Linked DNA regions of Homo sapiens: region 2 is linked to region 1. The links are contacts of gene promoters, found by promoter capture Hi-C in blood cells and fetal thymus (Javierre and others, 2016). All regions are on one chromosome and are shown on one strand. The core of a region is centred on a gene start or on the middle of the fragment in contact, and the rest is flanking DNA. Distances in the headings are between cores, read along the strand shown. Region 1 holds the start of ZFYVE19 (zinc finger FYVE-type containing 19). Region 2 has its middle 46 kb from the start of CHST14.

The links. The method cuts DNA at HindIII sites, captures the fragments that hold promoters and counts their contacts. A CHiCAGO score of 5 or more calls a contact.
Region 2: a contact is called between a fragment that was not itself captured here and the fragment with the promoter of ZFYVE19 in region 1, in 2 of 17 cell types (naive B cells and total B cells). The highest score is 6.0, in naive B cells.

The regions. Positions count from the first base shown.
Region 1 is chr15:40,804,430-40,811,317 of GRCh38, reverse strand. It overlaps ZFYVE19 (zinc finger FYVE-type containing 19), which reads right to left and starts at 4,229. Exons shown (of 11, transcript NM_001077268.2): 1 at 3,450-4,229; 2 at 2,078-2,199; 3 at 1,860-1,910; 4 at 1,348-1,466; 5 at 1,102-1,247; 6 at 561-669. The coding sequence starts at 3,728. DNAJC17 (DnaJ heat shock protein family (Hsp40) member C17) reads left to right here and starts at 3,845. Exons shown (of 11, transcript NM_018163.3): 1 at 3,845-3,949. The coding sequence starts at 3,872. RefSeq lists enhancers at 3,197-3,246, 3,877-3,926, 3,967-4,016, 4,477-4,566. The HindIII fragment of the contact is 13,093 bases long and covers 2,155-6,888 here.
Region 2 is chr15:40,513,227-40,520,736 of GRCh38, reverse strand. No RefSeq gene overlaps it. Among named protein-coding and RNA genes, the nearest start is that of CHST14, 46 kb to the right of the region's middle. RefSeq lists enhancers at 489-598, 653-947. The HindIII fragment of the contact is 582 bases long and covers 2,658-3,239 here.

The sequences.
Region 1 (6,888 bases), core at 2,980-5,479:
ACTGTCCAACAGAATGTTCTATGATGATGGAAACATTCCATATCATGTTCTATATCTGTGCTGTCCAAGATGGTAGCCATGAAGCCCATATGGCTACTGAGCATTGAGATGTGGCTGGTTTTACTAAATAGCTTCTTCCTCCTTATCAACATCATGATTGCAGAGAATATTCACTGAGTACTCACTATGAGTCAGGTATGTTCCCAAGCACTTATTGGATTATCTCGTTTACTCCTCCTGATTTCCCTGTGAGGTAGGTTTTTCCATACATACCTTCATTTTACACATGAGGAAAGTGAGACTTAGGTCAAGTAACTTGTCCAGCATCACACAGCTAATACGTGGTAGAAATGGGAATCACTGTCTGATTCTAAAGCCCGTGCACTTAAACACTAGGCTTACACTGGCTCCCTTTGGAGTAAGCACTCAATGAATGGTAACTCTTATAACGTTGATCACTCTCCGATTTATATTCATCTCCCAGAGGGTGGACAGCAGAGCCTCTCCAGTCTGGGGAAAGAGGTAGGGCAGATTCCTAGGGAGCCAAGTGGAGGGGTTACCTGGGCCTCCTCCTTTCCAGCTTTCATCGATAGCCACCTCAGCTGCCAGCTGCGTTAGCAGATCCTGTGTCTGCTGGGCTTGGGTCCTGGTGTCCGGTGTGTGATGTGCCTGCACAGACGAGGAAACCTCAGTGGAGAGCAGGGGTAGCCCAGAAGCAGTCTAGGTCAGGGATGGATGCTAAGTAGTTCTCAAAGCCCAGGGAAAGGAGAGGGATCCAGGGCCCACATAATCAAGTAGGTCTGGCCGTCCCCAACAGGACTGAGGGGCCACTTTTTCCTGCCCTACCCTATCGTGCTGTTTGTCCCTGGTCCCCGGGTCTGGTAGCAGGCCTGAGGATCAGGAGGTAGGGGTGGGAGGCTTTGCCAACTCCTGCAAAGTACATAAAGTACAAAGGTTGGTGCAAAAGTAACTGAGGTTTTTGCAATTAAAAGTAATGACAAAAACCACAATTACTTTTGTATCACCCCAATACCTGTATCTGGGCTTCTGCTGGGTCCTCCCGCTAGCACCCCCGCTTCTCTCCTAAGCCATAACACTCACCGGCTGGGGGGTTTGAGAAGGTAGAACTCTGCCCTGCAACGCTGCAAGTCGTGCCTCCATTTCCTGGGTGGAAGGGATGGAACCCTGACGTTCATCCTTTAGGGCAGCCAGCCGTGCCTCTATCTCTGCCTGTGAGGGGACTAACTCTGCAATTGGCATGGGGGGAGCCTTGTAAGGGCCAGAGGCATCTCAGTCCCAGAAGCCCTGGACTGTGTCCTCTAGGCAACCCCATCTGCCCCTGCTCACTGGGCTTGTTCTCCTGGCGGAGTCGTGCTAGGCGCTCAGCAATCATCTGGTCTTGTCGTGTCAGTCCCTGGCTCTGGGAAGTGCTGGGCTTTTGCTTGGCTTCCAAGGCTGCCACACGCCTGGCAGGATATGAGATAGAGGCTCTTGAAGAAGGCAGAGGGGAAGAGTGAAGGCACCCACTCACTGTTTCCCATTCAAATCAAATCATTTCTGGGCACTTAGGGAGGCCTCCAATGGGCAATCTGCTGTGCCCCTCACTCATGTCACCCTGCAGCCCAACCTGGCTGACCAGCCAGACGGTCCAGCTGAAAGGACAAGCTCTACCAAGTGCCTGTCCTGGAGAGAGGGCTGAAGAGCTGCTTTACCAGCCCAAGAGGGCAGTCAGGAGCCAGAGAGGAGAGAATTCTCCTGATTCTGTGCTCATTTTATCTAGAAGATGGGGGCAGGGTCTTTCCCTATGGCTCCCTTATCCTTTCCCCAATGCTCTTTGTCTTTTTCTCTTCAGCACTTACTTCTTATAGTTCTGAGGTGGTGACCACTTGGAGGCATTGGCAGAAGACCCTCTACAGAGAAGAAATCTAGTGTTATAAATCCTGCCATCCCACCAGGCAGTGCCCCCCACTCCAAACACTTCCTCGGCTGACTCTCGCGACAGAGTACAAAGCTGTGAGGGCTGGCCAGATGCCCACTGCCATACTTGGCTGAACTTTCACCCATGCCTGCCTCTTACCTGGTCAGGACCTCATGGCATTGCTTGCAGACTTTCTGTTGGGTGTTCCCAGTCCGAGGCACTGCTGCACTGAAGCTTAGGCAGCCTGAACAGAAGGCCCTGCCACAATTCTTACAGCCGTACTACAAGAAACATGAAGCGGGAGATCCCCCTCTCACCCGCCCCTGCAGGCTGCTCCCAGGGACTCTCCAAGCACACACAGAGAGAAGTCACTGAAGTTATGACCAGCTGCTGGGAGGAAGAAGAGGAGTGGGGCCCCTAAGGCCTAGGGATGGTGAGTAAAGCAATTCCTCGGTTTCCAGTACCTTATTCAAGCCAAATGAAGGTTTATACAAAATTCCCATGCTTTCTACCCTGTCTTCAATTCCCTGACCCAGGGATGTAGAAGACAGATAGATAAAGCCCAGTATTTCAGGCCACTGACTCTTCCACAAAGGAGAATCAGAGAGACAGGGCAGAGCCGATGCCTCCTCTGCTCTTGCAGAGATGGAGGGAGGCTTGGCTCAGGATGGGCTAACAATAGCCTCCATTTATTAAGCACTTACTATGTGCCAGGCACTAAACCCAGTACTTAACATTCATCATGTGATTTATTCCTTACAATTTACACACATTATTTTACTTAATCTTGATGCCAACCGTGATTATCCTTATTTTGAGAGGGCCAGAGAGGTTACATAACTTATCCAAACCAAGGTCACCGCCTCAATAAGACAGCAGAGCTCAGATTTGAACGCTGACTCCAAAATCCAGGTTGGTGAATGCTGCACGGTCCTGCCTTCCTGCGTGACACTAATTTACTCCATCTAGTTCCCATCATCTCCTGGTCAGAATCCCTGGCCACAACTGAGGCAGAGGGAACCTGCAGTTTACCAGAGGAATCTGGCAGGTCTGTGATAGGGACAGGACAGTCAGCCTTCACCATGGTGCCCCGGAAGCAGGAGGAAGTGTGGTAATCTAACTCCAGCGACCTGGAGAAGGGCAGGCTGCGGGATGGGGAAGATTTCAGAGCAGAGGGAGTAACGGGCTTGGTGTGATGGACACCGCGCTTCGGAGGAGCAGGGTGGAGAGAAGAAAACCGCCAGATGCTACACTGGGCCGACAGAAAAGAGTAGCTTTGCAAAAACGACGGCAGCGCGCTTTACAGTTTATAGGGAACTCTCACCTAAAGCACTTCAGTGGACCCTCACATAAACCCTGAAAGCGAGAGAATGTTAGCCCCATTTTACAGAAATGGAAACTGAGGATCAATGACTTCATCAAAACCACACAGCTGGAAAGGAGCCGTAAGACCAAGTCTTTGGACGTTAAGTCCCGCGCTTTTCCCTCCTCTCCTCCCTGGCCCTGCAGCCCTCGGGGAGGGAAGACTCGCCTCCTTCTTGAAGAGGGTGAACTTGACAGCGCAGCCGTAGCACCTACTCTCCATGGTGGCTCCCAGCACCGCAGGGTCTGCAGAGCTGAGATCACGCCGGCCAAGTCCTGGGCCCCTTGGACCCTCACCCCAGCTCCGCCCTTCCCTTCCCTGCCCTGCCCCGCCCCACACGCCCACTGGCACTGTCCCGCCGCGACCTAGAGCAGGGAATCCGGACGCTCTCCTGCAGCCAGCGTACGGCAGCGGCGGCAACGGGGGCTGCTGGGAGTCGTAGTTCATTCACGACTGCCGGCCTCCCTCAGAGTCAGTCAAGCCTGACCCAGAACACAATTCCCAGAGGGCTAGGCGCCGCTCGGAGCCTGCAGTCCTCACGCGCGCTTAGACTCTTGGGAGTTGTAGTACGAATCCGTCAGGCCGGAACCATGGCAGTGACCAAGGAGCTCTTACAGATGGACCTGTACGCGCTGCTAGGCATTGAGGAGAAGGCAGCGGACAAAGAGGTGAGAACGGTGGCGAGGAAGGCTGATCTTGAGAGGTCTGGCGGTCCTTCCTGTCCTAGCGCCTCGGCCACTGCTGGCATCCGCTCTCCAGGTTCATTCGGGTCCTGGGCGGGGAGCGAGGGTCGGCGCTATGCCCTCCGCAGGCGGGCTCCCAGACATTTCCTGGACGGTCCGAGGGCCTCAAGAGGAAGCGGGGTACAGAGGGCTCTTCGCGCCGGGTGGCTGTGCTCTCCCCGTGGCCCCTGTCTCCTAGAGGCCGCGGGGCGAGGCAGCAAGGAACGCTAGCCTCCTCTGCGCCTGCGCAGTCTCGGCCTCCGTTTCCGCTTCTGCCTTGACTGTGACAAGAGGTGCCTCATTTCAGTCTCTTCTGCAGGCTGATTTAATTCTTCCACTAAGAGCCTAGAACGAAAGAAAAGTAAGATCTCAAAGCCTCTCCACTCCCTTTTCATGCCCCCTTGCCAATGTGACCGATGACCCTGCTGTCTCTATTTTCTTTTCCACTCAAGCCCATTGACTCTTTTCAAGTAGCTGATGCCCTTCTCAGCATGTGCTAGTTAGTGGGCTAAAAGCAGGAGGATCAGAAGGTTAAGGCAGATGGTATAGAGGTCCATGCTACCTTAGGTGGTGATAAAGATGCCAGGGAGTGAAACACTGATCAAGCTGGATTTAGGATTTCTTTTATCTCCCCCTGGATCATGGTGGTAGTTTTAACAATATACGAAGGAGAGGCGTTCATCAAATGAAAATTAGTGCCCAACTGAGCCGAGATCGCGCCACTGCACTCCATCCTGGGCGACAGAGCAAGACTCTTTCTCAAAAAAAGAAAGAAAGAAAGAAAATTAGTGTCTACTAGGCCGGGCGCGGTGGCTCACGCCTGTAATCTCAGCACTTTGGGAGGCCGAGGCGGGCGGATCATGTGGTCAGAAGTTCGAGACCAGCCTGACCAATATGCTGAAACCCCTTCTCTACTAAAAATACAAAAATTAGCCGGGCGTGGTGGCACACACCTGTAGTCCCAGCTACTTGGGAGGCTGAGGCAGGAGAATCACTGGAACCCGGGAGGCGGAGGTTGCAGTGAGCTGAGATTGCACCACTGCACTCCAGTCTGGGCGACAGAGCGAGACTGTCTCAAAAAAAAAAAAAAAAAAGGAAAAAAAAATAGTGCCCACTAATGTCCCAGTACTTCTGGGCTGCCCTGCTCATGGGGTGAGTGAGCTTTTGAGAAGAGGAAGCTCTGGGGCAGAAAATCAGAGAGACCCAGAGGGCCCTTGAGAAATGCTGTCAACCTGCACAAATCTGTCCCCTGCAGCCGCAGCTGAAATCAGAAATGGCCATGGGATGTCTATGAAGCATCAAAAGCATCTGCTCCACCTCTCTCGTGTTTCAATATTTTAGGATTAATAATTCCTAACATCTGTATAATGCTTACTATGTCCTAGACAGTATTTTTTTTTTCTGGATAGTATTCTAAGTGCTCTATGTTTACAAATTATTATTTTTTAAATTCTTTATTATTATTATTTTTTATTATTGTTTTTGAGACGGAGTCTCGCTCTGTGGCCCAGGCTGGAGTGCAGTGGCGCGATCTCGGCTTACTGCAACCTCCGCCTCTCGGGTTCACGCCATTCTCCTGCCTGAGCCTCTCCAAGTAGCTGGGACTACAGGCGCCTGCCACCATGCCCGGCTAATAATTTTTATTTTTAGTAGAGACGGGGTTTCACCGTGGTCTCGATCTCCTGACCTCGTGATCTGCCCACCTCAGCCTCCCAAAGTGCTGGGATTACAAGCGTGAGCCACCGTGCCCGGCCTATTATTATTTTTTGAGACGGAGTCTCGCTCTGTCGCCCAGGCTGGAGTGCAGTGGCGCAATCTCAGCTTACTGCAACTTCTGCCTCCCAGGTTCAAGCGATTCTCCTGCCTCAGCCTCCGGAGTAGCTGGGACTACAGGCATGTACCACCACGCCCGGCTAATTTTTTTTTTTTTTTTTTTTTTGAGACAGAGTATCACTCTTTGGCCCAGGCTGGAGTGCAGTGGCATGATCTCGGCTCACTGCAACCTCCGCCTTCCTGTTTCAAGTGATTCTCCTGCCTCAGCCTCCCAAGTAGCTGGGATTACAGGCACCCGCCACCACGCCCAGCTAATTTTTGTATTTTTAGTAGAGACGGGGTCTCACCGTGTTGGCCAGGCCAGTCTTGGATTCCTGACCTCGTGATCTTCCCACCTCGGCCTCCCAAAGTGCTGGGATTACAGGTGTGAGCCACTATGCCCTGCCTGCAAATTATTTAATTAGTACTTTATTAATAGTGAGAAACTATTTGAGACATTTCACAAAAGATCCAAGTGGGAAATCTGGAGGGTTTTTTTTTGAGACGGAGTCTCACTCTCTTGCCTAGGCTGGAGTGCAGTGGTGCAACCTTGGCTCACTGCAACCTCTGCCCCCCAGGTTCAGGGAATTCTCCTGCCTCAGCCTCCTGAGCAGCTGGGATTACAGGCATGTGCCACCACACCCAGCTAATTTTTGTGTTTTTATCAGAGACAGGGTTTCACCATGTTGGTCAGGCTGGTCTTGAACTCCTGACCTCAAGTGATCTGCCGGCCTTGGCCTCCCAAAGTGCTGGGATTACAGGCGTGAGCCACCGCGCCCGGCTGAAATCTAGAGTTTCTAACCCTGAAGTTGAGAACTCCTGAGGAAGTCAGTTGGAAGTCATTCTCTATTAATTAGAGAAGTTACATAATCAGATTTTATTTTTTTTTTATTTTTATGTCTATTTTTTGAGAAAAGATCTCACTGTCATTCAGGCTGGAATGCAGTGGCACAATCACAGCTCACTGCAGCCTCGACTTCCTGGGCTCAAGTGATCCCACCTCAGCCTCTCATGTAGTTGGGACTGCAGGTGTGCATCATCATGCCTGGCTAATTTGTTTTGTGTTTGTTTTT
Region 2 (7,510 bases), core at 1,699-4,198, 290 kb after region 1:
GAATTCTGTGAATATACTAAAAAATACTGAATTTTACACTTTAAACAATTTCATGAATTATGAAAAAGATTGTGCAAATGTCCACTTTTATAAACCATTGAAAATTTTCTTAATTGGAAAATGATTTTATAAATAAAGTTGCATTATTGCTTTGTAGACGAAGTACTTTTATTATAAGCCTACAGAGCAGAATGCAAAATGATGCCATTTATGAATTCATGTCAGTAGTTATTTGCTGAAATTATATCAGTATAGTGCATTGATCCTGCTTCAAAGCAGGTGTAGAGAGGATTTCCAATATGATGAACAACGTGTGGACTGGAAAGCAGAAGAAAATATGCATAGAATTGGGTACAAAGTAAATGTATTTTCTTCAACATTGTGTTCTGTTCATATTGTTCTGAAATAAAAGAACAAGTTCTAAACATTAAAACAAATACACAACATCCAAGAAAAACGATACAATAAGCAAAACATGCAGAATACACACACACACACACACACACACACACACACACACACACACACACGCACACACAATCTGGCAGCTGGAGCCACATTCAGAGACAATGGTTGTTGGGGGAAGCCTCCCAGTTTCCTCCAAGGAAAGGACATTCTTGATTTGTCGTCTCCACTCCCCTGTCACCCTGGACTTAGGTGCAAAGATGGGCAGAGCAGCTGTGCACACCAAGTTGTCTCTTCTTTCAGGGGGTGCCCATGTGTGTTGGGGTAAAAGGGAAACTGGGGGAGGGGGCACTCTCACGGGTGTGGCCCAAGAGTGCTCAGCCCAAGGGCAGCCTCAGCGAACAGCACTGCCACCTTGCGGCTTGGGTTGGTCTCAGCTCTGATTAAGGGTCCAGGGACCCACAAGGGGGCTCCTTCATGTTCTTCAGAAGAAAATATTTGGCAATTCAGTAGCCTTCCTTCAAATATCATTTTTATGTTTTTTTCTTAATTTAAAAGTAATTCACATTCACTTTATAACATTTTTAAAGTAGATATAAGGAAAAATAAAATAATAAAAATTATCTGTAAATCCAACCTCCAGAGATAACCAAGATATTAGGCACTTGAGTGTATATTCTTCCAGTCTTTTTTCTGTTTTTTTTCTTTTTTTAACAAAAACAGGATTATACAGTACATACTGTTGTTTCATAAACTAAATATATTGTACGAGTATCTTTCCACTTGTTAAATACATTGTATGAGTATCTTTCACTTGTTGTTCTGCAATACCTTTTATTTTATTTTATTATTTGGAGACATGGTCTTGCTTTATTACCTAGGCTGGAGTGCAGTGGTGCAGTCTCTGGTCACTGCAGCCTTAGCCTTCTGGGCTCAAGCAATCGTCCCACCTCAGCCTCCTGAGTTAGCTGGGATTACAGACATGTACCACCACACCTGGTTAATTTTTGTATTTTTTGTAGAGACGGGGTTTCGCATGTTGCTCAGGCTGGTCTCAAACTCCTGGCCTCAAATGATCCACCCACCTCAGCCTCCCAAAATGCTGGGATTACAGGAATGAGCCACCACACCCGGCCCACAACATAATTTTTGATGGCTGTATTGTATTCCTTTCTTTGGGTGACTGGGCCATAGTTTATTTAACCAACTATTGTTGGAACACTTAAATTATACCCATTTTTTTTTCACTGAAGTAAATAATGCTGGGATGAACTTCCTTGTTGCTGAATCTTTACAGAAATCCACGGTTCTTTTCTTAGTTAAATTCCCAAGACAAAGTGGATATGAAGTTTGTAAGGTGTTTCATATAATACAGTATATTAGTTAAGACTTTCCAGAAAGGCTTAATTAGGAGGCTTTCTACCTTATTTATTTATTTTTAATTTTTTTGAGACGGGGTCTCACTTTGTGCAGTAGCGTGATCATAGCTCACTACAGCTTCAAATTCGTGGGCTCAAGTGATCCTCCTGCCTCAGCCTCCCACAGTGCTGGGAGTTTGAGGCTACAGTGAGCTATGATCGTGGCACTGCACTCCAGCCTGGTTGACAGACTGAGACGCTGTCTCTAAAAAAATTAAGATAAAATAAAATAAAAATTAAGGGCTTTCTCCTCATATGTTAGTGGAGATTAAACCAATAGAGAAAATTATAACGATTTAAAAAATACTATAAGTTCAGAAACATTTTATTCTTTTTCAAAATAATTTTTCTTTTTCTCCTCATGTTACTTTGTTTAAGATAAATTCAGAAACATTTTAAAGTGAGCTTTATTTATTTATTTATTTATTTTTTGAGACCAAGTCTCGCTCTGTTGCCCAGGCTGGAGTGCAATGGTGCAGTCTCGGCTCACTGCAACCTCCGCCTCCTGGGTTCAAGGGATTCTCCTGCCTCAGCCTCCTGAGTAGTGGGATTAATGGCGCCCACCACCATGACTGGCTAATTTTTCTGATTTTAATAGAGACGGGGTTTTACCATGTTGGTCAGGCTGGTATTAAACTCCTGACCTCGTGATCCACCCCGCCTCAGACTCCCAAACTGCTGGGATTACAGGTGTGAGGCCACTGCACTCTGCCGCTTTATTTTTATTAATCACAACTACACCTATATACTTCTCCTATTTTTTTATTTTTACGAATTTTAAAAACAGCAAATTTGAAGGAATAGTATTAACACCCCTCCACTCTCCACCAAGCTTCAACATTTTAGGCATTATACAACTTTGCTCTCTCTCTTTATAAATATATATATATATTTTGAGATGGAGTTTCTCTCTTGTTGCCCAGGCTGGAGTGCAATGGCGCAATCTCGGCTCACCACAACATCCGCCTCCTGGGTTCAAATGATTCTCCTGCCTCAGCCTCCCGAGGAGCTGGGATTTCAGGCATGCGCCACCACGCCCAGCTGATTTTGTATTTTTAGTGGAGACAGGGTTTCTCCATGTTGGTCAGACTGGTCTTGAACTCCCGACCTCAGGTGATCTGCCCACCTCGGCCTCTCAAAGTGCTGGGATTATAGGCATGAGCCACCATGCCCAGCCATGAATACTTTTTTGCTTAACCTTTTGAAAGTAAATTGCAAATGTTATGTCACTTCACCTCTGAATATATTTGCATGTATCTCCTAAAAGAGGGACATTCCCCTACATAACTACAAAATCATTATCATGCCTAAAAAGTTAACAATAATTCTCTAATATCATCTAATATTTAGTTTATATAACATTTTACCCAATTGTCCCTAATTATAGATTTTTAAAAATCAGATTCAATCCAAGCTTATGAATTGTTGTATCCTTTAAGCTGGAAGAGTCGCTTCTTTCTTTTTCTATAACATTGTCTTTTTGAAGACTCCAGGCCAGCTTTCTTACAGAATGTTCCACATTTTGGATTGAGTGAGTGTTTCTTCATGGTGTTGTTTAACTTGTTCCTCTGGCCCTCTCTGTTTTCTGTAAATTGGAAGGTTGGTGCAGAGAACCTGTATAAAATAATTCTACCGGCTGGGTGCGGTGGCTCACACCTGTTATCCCAGCACTTTGGGATGCCGAGGCGGGTGGATCACCTGGGGTCAGGAGTTCCAGACCAGTGTGGCCAACATGGTGAAACCCCGTCTCTACTAAAAATACAAAAAATTAGCCAGGCGTGGTGGCAGGCGCCTGTAATCCTAGCTACTCAGAAGGGGCAGGGGAATTGCTTGAACCTGGGAGGCGGAGGTTGCAGTGAGCCGAGATCGCACCACTGCACTCCAGCCTGGACAACAAGAGTGAAACTCTGTTTCAATTAAAAAAAAAAAAGAATTCTACCATAGTTGGTTGCATTATTGGTTCTGATTTATTCTATCCTTTCCTGTGAGGTGATTATACGTCCTCTCCTTTTGCTATGTGACTTGCGGCACTCCTTTTTAGGAGGAATACACTTCACTGTCCCATTAATGGCGGGCATGGTCACACGACTTGAGGTGGCCAATAAATGTAAGTGGAAATGACTATGCTTTTCCCTGCAGAAGGTTTAAGAACTATGGCAGACTTCTATCACTTTCCTTTTCCCTCTGCCATGAGGATTACATATTTCAAATAGAGGCTACATCTTCTGCCCAGATCCCAGAATGGAGAGGACAACACAGAGCAGAACCACCAATGACCACAGCCGACATAAAATGTGCATAAGAAATAAACCCTTCTTACTGTAAGCCACTAAGAGTTTTGGGTTATTTGTTACTACAGTGTAACTCAGAGAAAGCTAATTAAAATATAAACACATATGTCAGCAATATTATTTCTTTCATCACAGAAGAGCCTTGCTGTATCCATAGAGTTGAGAGCAGGTCTCCTTGTTACACTGTGGGTACACTAGATTCCAGAACCACTACCTACTGTGTCTCTGTATCAGCTCCTGCCTTCAAGCGGCTCAAGAAATGACTTTGGGGACCCAAGCCTGGGGCCAGTCTGTCCAGGATGACTAAAGAGGGAGTTAGATGGAGAAGGCAGGGTCTGGAGCAGTACCTGGCACATGCAGTACTCAAGGATTTGATAGATAAATGAGTAATTTGCTTGCATTCTTGTGCCAGGGTTTTTAAGAGTCAGTCCAAAATAAGGATTATGTTATGAATTTTTCAAAAAGCCTTTTTTCCTTTAAAAGACTTATTGGCCGGGTGGGGTGGCTCACGCCTGTAATCCTAACACTTTGGGAGGCTGAGGCAGGCAGATCACAAGGTCAGGAGTTCGAGACCAGTTTCGCCAACACAGTGAAACCCCATCACTACTAAAAGTACAAAAAATTAGTCAGGTGTGGTGGGGTGCACCTGTAATCCCAGCTACTTGGGAGGCTGAGGCAGGAGAATCGCATGAACCCAGGAAGCAGAGGTTGCAATGAGCCAAGATTACGCCATCGCACTCTAGCCCGGGCAACAGTGCGAGACTCCAACTCAAAAAAAAAAAAAAAAAAAAAAGACTCATTTAGGAAGACGTAAAATGAAGATTTTATTTCCTTTAAAAGACTTATTAATCCACTTAACAAATTATTTACTAATTACAAAGGGGAAAATGGTAATTTGACAGTGGAGAAATCTGGTGGCCACCCTTTTAACTAAGAGAGCAAAGTTAACATCTCTTAAATAGGACAAACCAATGTCATATGCCTTCTGATGTCATGCAATGAGAAAGGACGTATCATTTCTGTGGTATTTTGGCAAAAATGCATTACTTGAGTGTAACCATGAGCAAACATCAGACAAACTCCAACTGAGGGACCTTCTACTCAATAACAGGCCTGTACTTTTCATACACACAAATGTCAATGTCATGAAAGACAAAAGAAAGCCTGAGGAAACTGTCAACAGATTGAAGGAAACTGAAGAGACATGACAACCAAAAGCAACGTGTGATCCTAGAATGGATCCTGGGCCAGAGAAAGCAATGCCTAGAAGAGGAAAAAGAAAAGAAAAAGAGGAGGAAGAGGGTGTAGAGAAGGAGGAAGAAAAGGAGGGTGGGGAGGAGGAGAAGGGGAGAAGAGAGAGAAGTAGCAGCAGGGGGAGGGAGAGGGGACATTATTAGGATAATTGGCAAAATTTTAATCAATTATGTAGATTATAATATTATATCAATGATGTTAAGTTTCCTGGTTTTGGTGATAGTACATAAGTATTTCAGGGTAAAGAGGTGCAATGTCTATAATTTACTCTCAAATAATTCAGTAAAGAAATTTATATAAACAGGGAGTATTCTGTCTTGTGCACGTGTTCTCTTTCTCTGTGTGTATGAATGTAGAGAGACAGAATCATAAACCAAGGCTGTGCACAGTAGCTCATGCCTGTAATCCCTGCACTTTTGGAGGCCGAGGTGGTGGATCATTTGAGGTCAGGAGTTCCAGAACAGCTTGGCCAACATGGTGAAACCATGTTTCTACTCAAAATACAAAAATTAACTGGGTATGGTGGCATACACCTGTAATCTCAGCTACTTGGGAGGCTGAAGCAGGAGAATTGCTTGAACTCAGGAGAGAGAGGTTGCAGTGAGCCGAGATTGAGCCACTGCACTCCAGCCTGGGTGACAGAGTGAGACTCTGTCTTAAAAATTTTTTTTTTAAAAAAGAAACTCATAAACCTAATATAGCAAAACATTAGCAACTGGTGAATCTGGGTGAAGAGTATATAGGAGTTCATCGTACTATTGTAGCAAATTTTATGTGTGAAATTATTCTAAAACAAAAAGTTAAACAAATGGATATTCATCTAAAATGATGTCATTTCCATATTTTGGGAATTAGAAAGTCTTTATTTATGAACTGATGGGATAGTAGATGGTGGTTTTTTGTTTTGTTGGGTTTTTTGTTTTTTTTTTTGAGATGGAGTCTCGCTCTGTTGCCCAGGCTAGAGTGCAGTGGCAGGATCTCAGCTCACTGCAACCTCCGCCTCCCCAGTTCAAACGATTCTTGGTGCCTCAGCCTCCCAAGTAGCTGGGATTTCAGGCACACGCCTCCACACCCACCTAATTTTTGTATTTTTCGTAGAGACGGGGTTTCACCATGTTGCCCAGGCTGGTCTCAAATTCCTGACCTCAAGTGATCCGCCCACCTTGGCCTCCCAAAGTGCTGGGATTATAGGCATGAGCCACTGCACCCAGCCAATAGTAATTATTTTGAATGAACTTGCTTGGCAAAGTAAAAAGTTAGCCATCCCCTGTTGGCCCCTCCCCACGAAGTCTTTCATGGTGCAAGAAATCCTCAAATGTGGGAAGCAGTATTTTAGTGTGAATCCCCAACAGGATGGACTCCTGCTCTCATCCAGAATCCAGAGGCAGGACACAGCATGTCCTCAGTGATGGGCCAAGAACAACTCCGCAGAGGCCTCCTGGGGCAGGAGAGACGCATGAACACACACACCTTCTTGGGCACACATCCACAGCACACACCCTGAGAGCCCCTGGAAGGGGGAGCCCAGCCTCCCTTGGCATGTGATTGGCTGTCCAGCCTAAGATGTGGCGGATGCTCCAGAGCTGACCAGAGGCACAGAGATGACATCACTGTCTCTTTCTGGAAACAGCAATGACAGAGAAGACCACAGCGAGTGATAAAGGTAGGCTCTAATTAAGCCCTCAGCTGTGTAGGACTTGGGCCTTGATGGAAGGGGTAGGATTTAGTTAAGCCAGGGAAGAGGACGATGCTTTCCCCTTCTGGGAGTCCCTTACTATACTCAGTAGGTACTCAGAGAGTAACGATGTAGTCACTATCAATTTTAGGAAACAGGAGCAGCCAAGACTCTGAAGATCAAACCAGCCTTTGTTTCCTTTACCAATTCTTGGTGGTAATGTTTGGCTGACCCAATAGCATCCCTGGGTGTGCCGGGAGGAAGGATGAGGCTAAGCGCTGCTCCTCCTTCACCGTGAAGGCTAGTATAACTTCTGTTCCAGGAGGACCCAGGAGGATGCAGGACCTTTAATGGCAGGTGAGATTAAGAAATGGGGTTCCAGCTAGGCACGGTGGCTCACGCCTGTAATCCTAGCACTTTGGGGGACTGAGGTGGGCTGATTACTTGAGGCCAGGAGTTTGAGACCA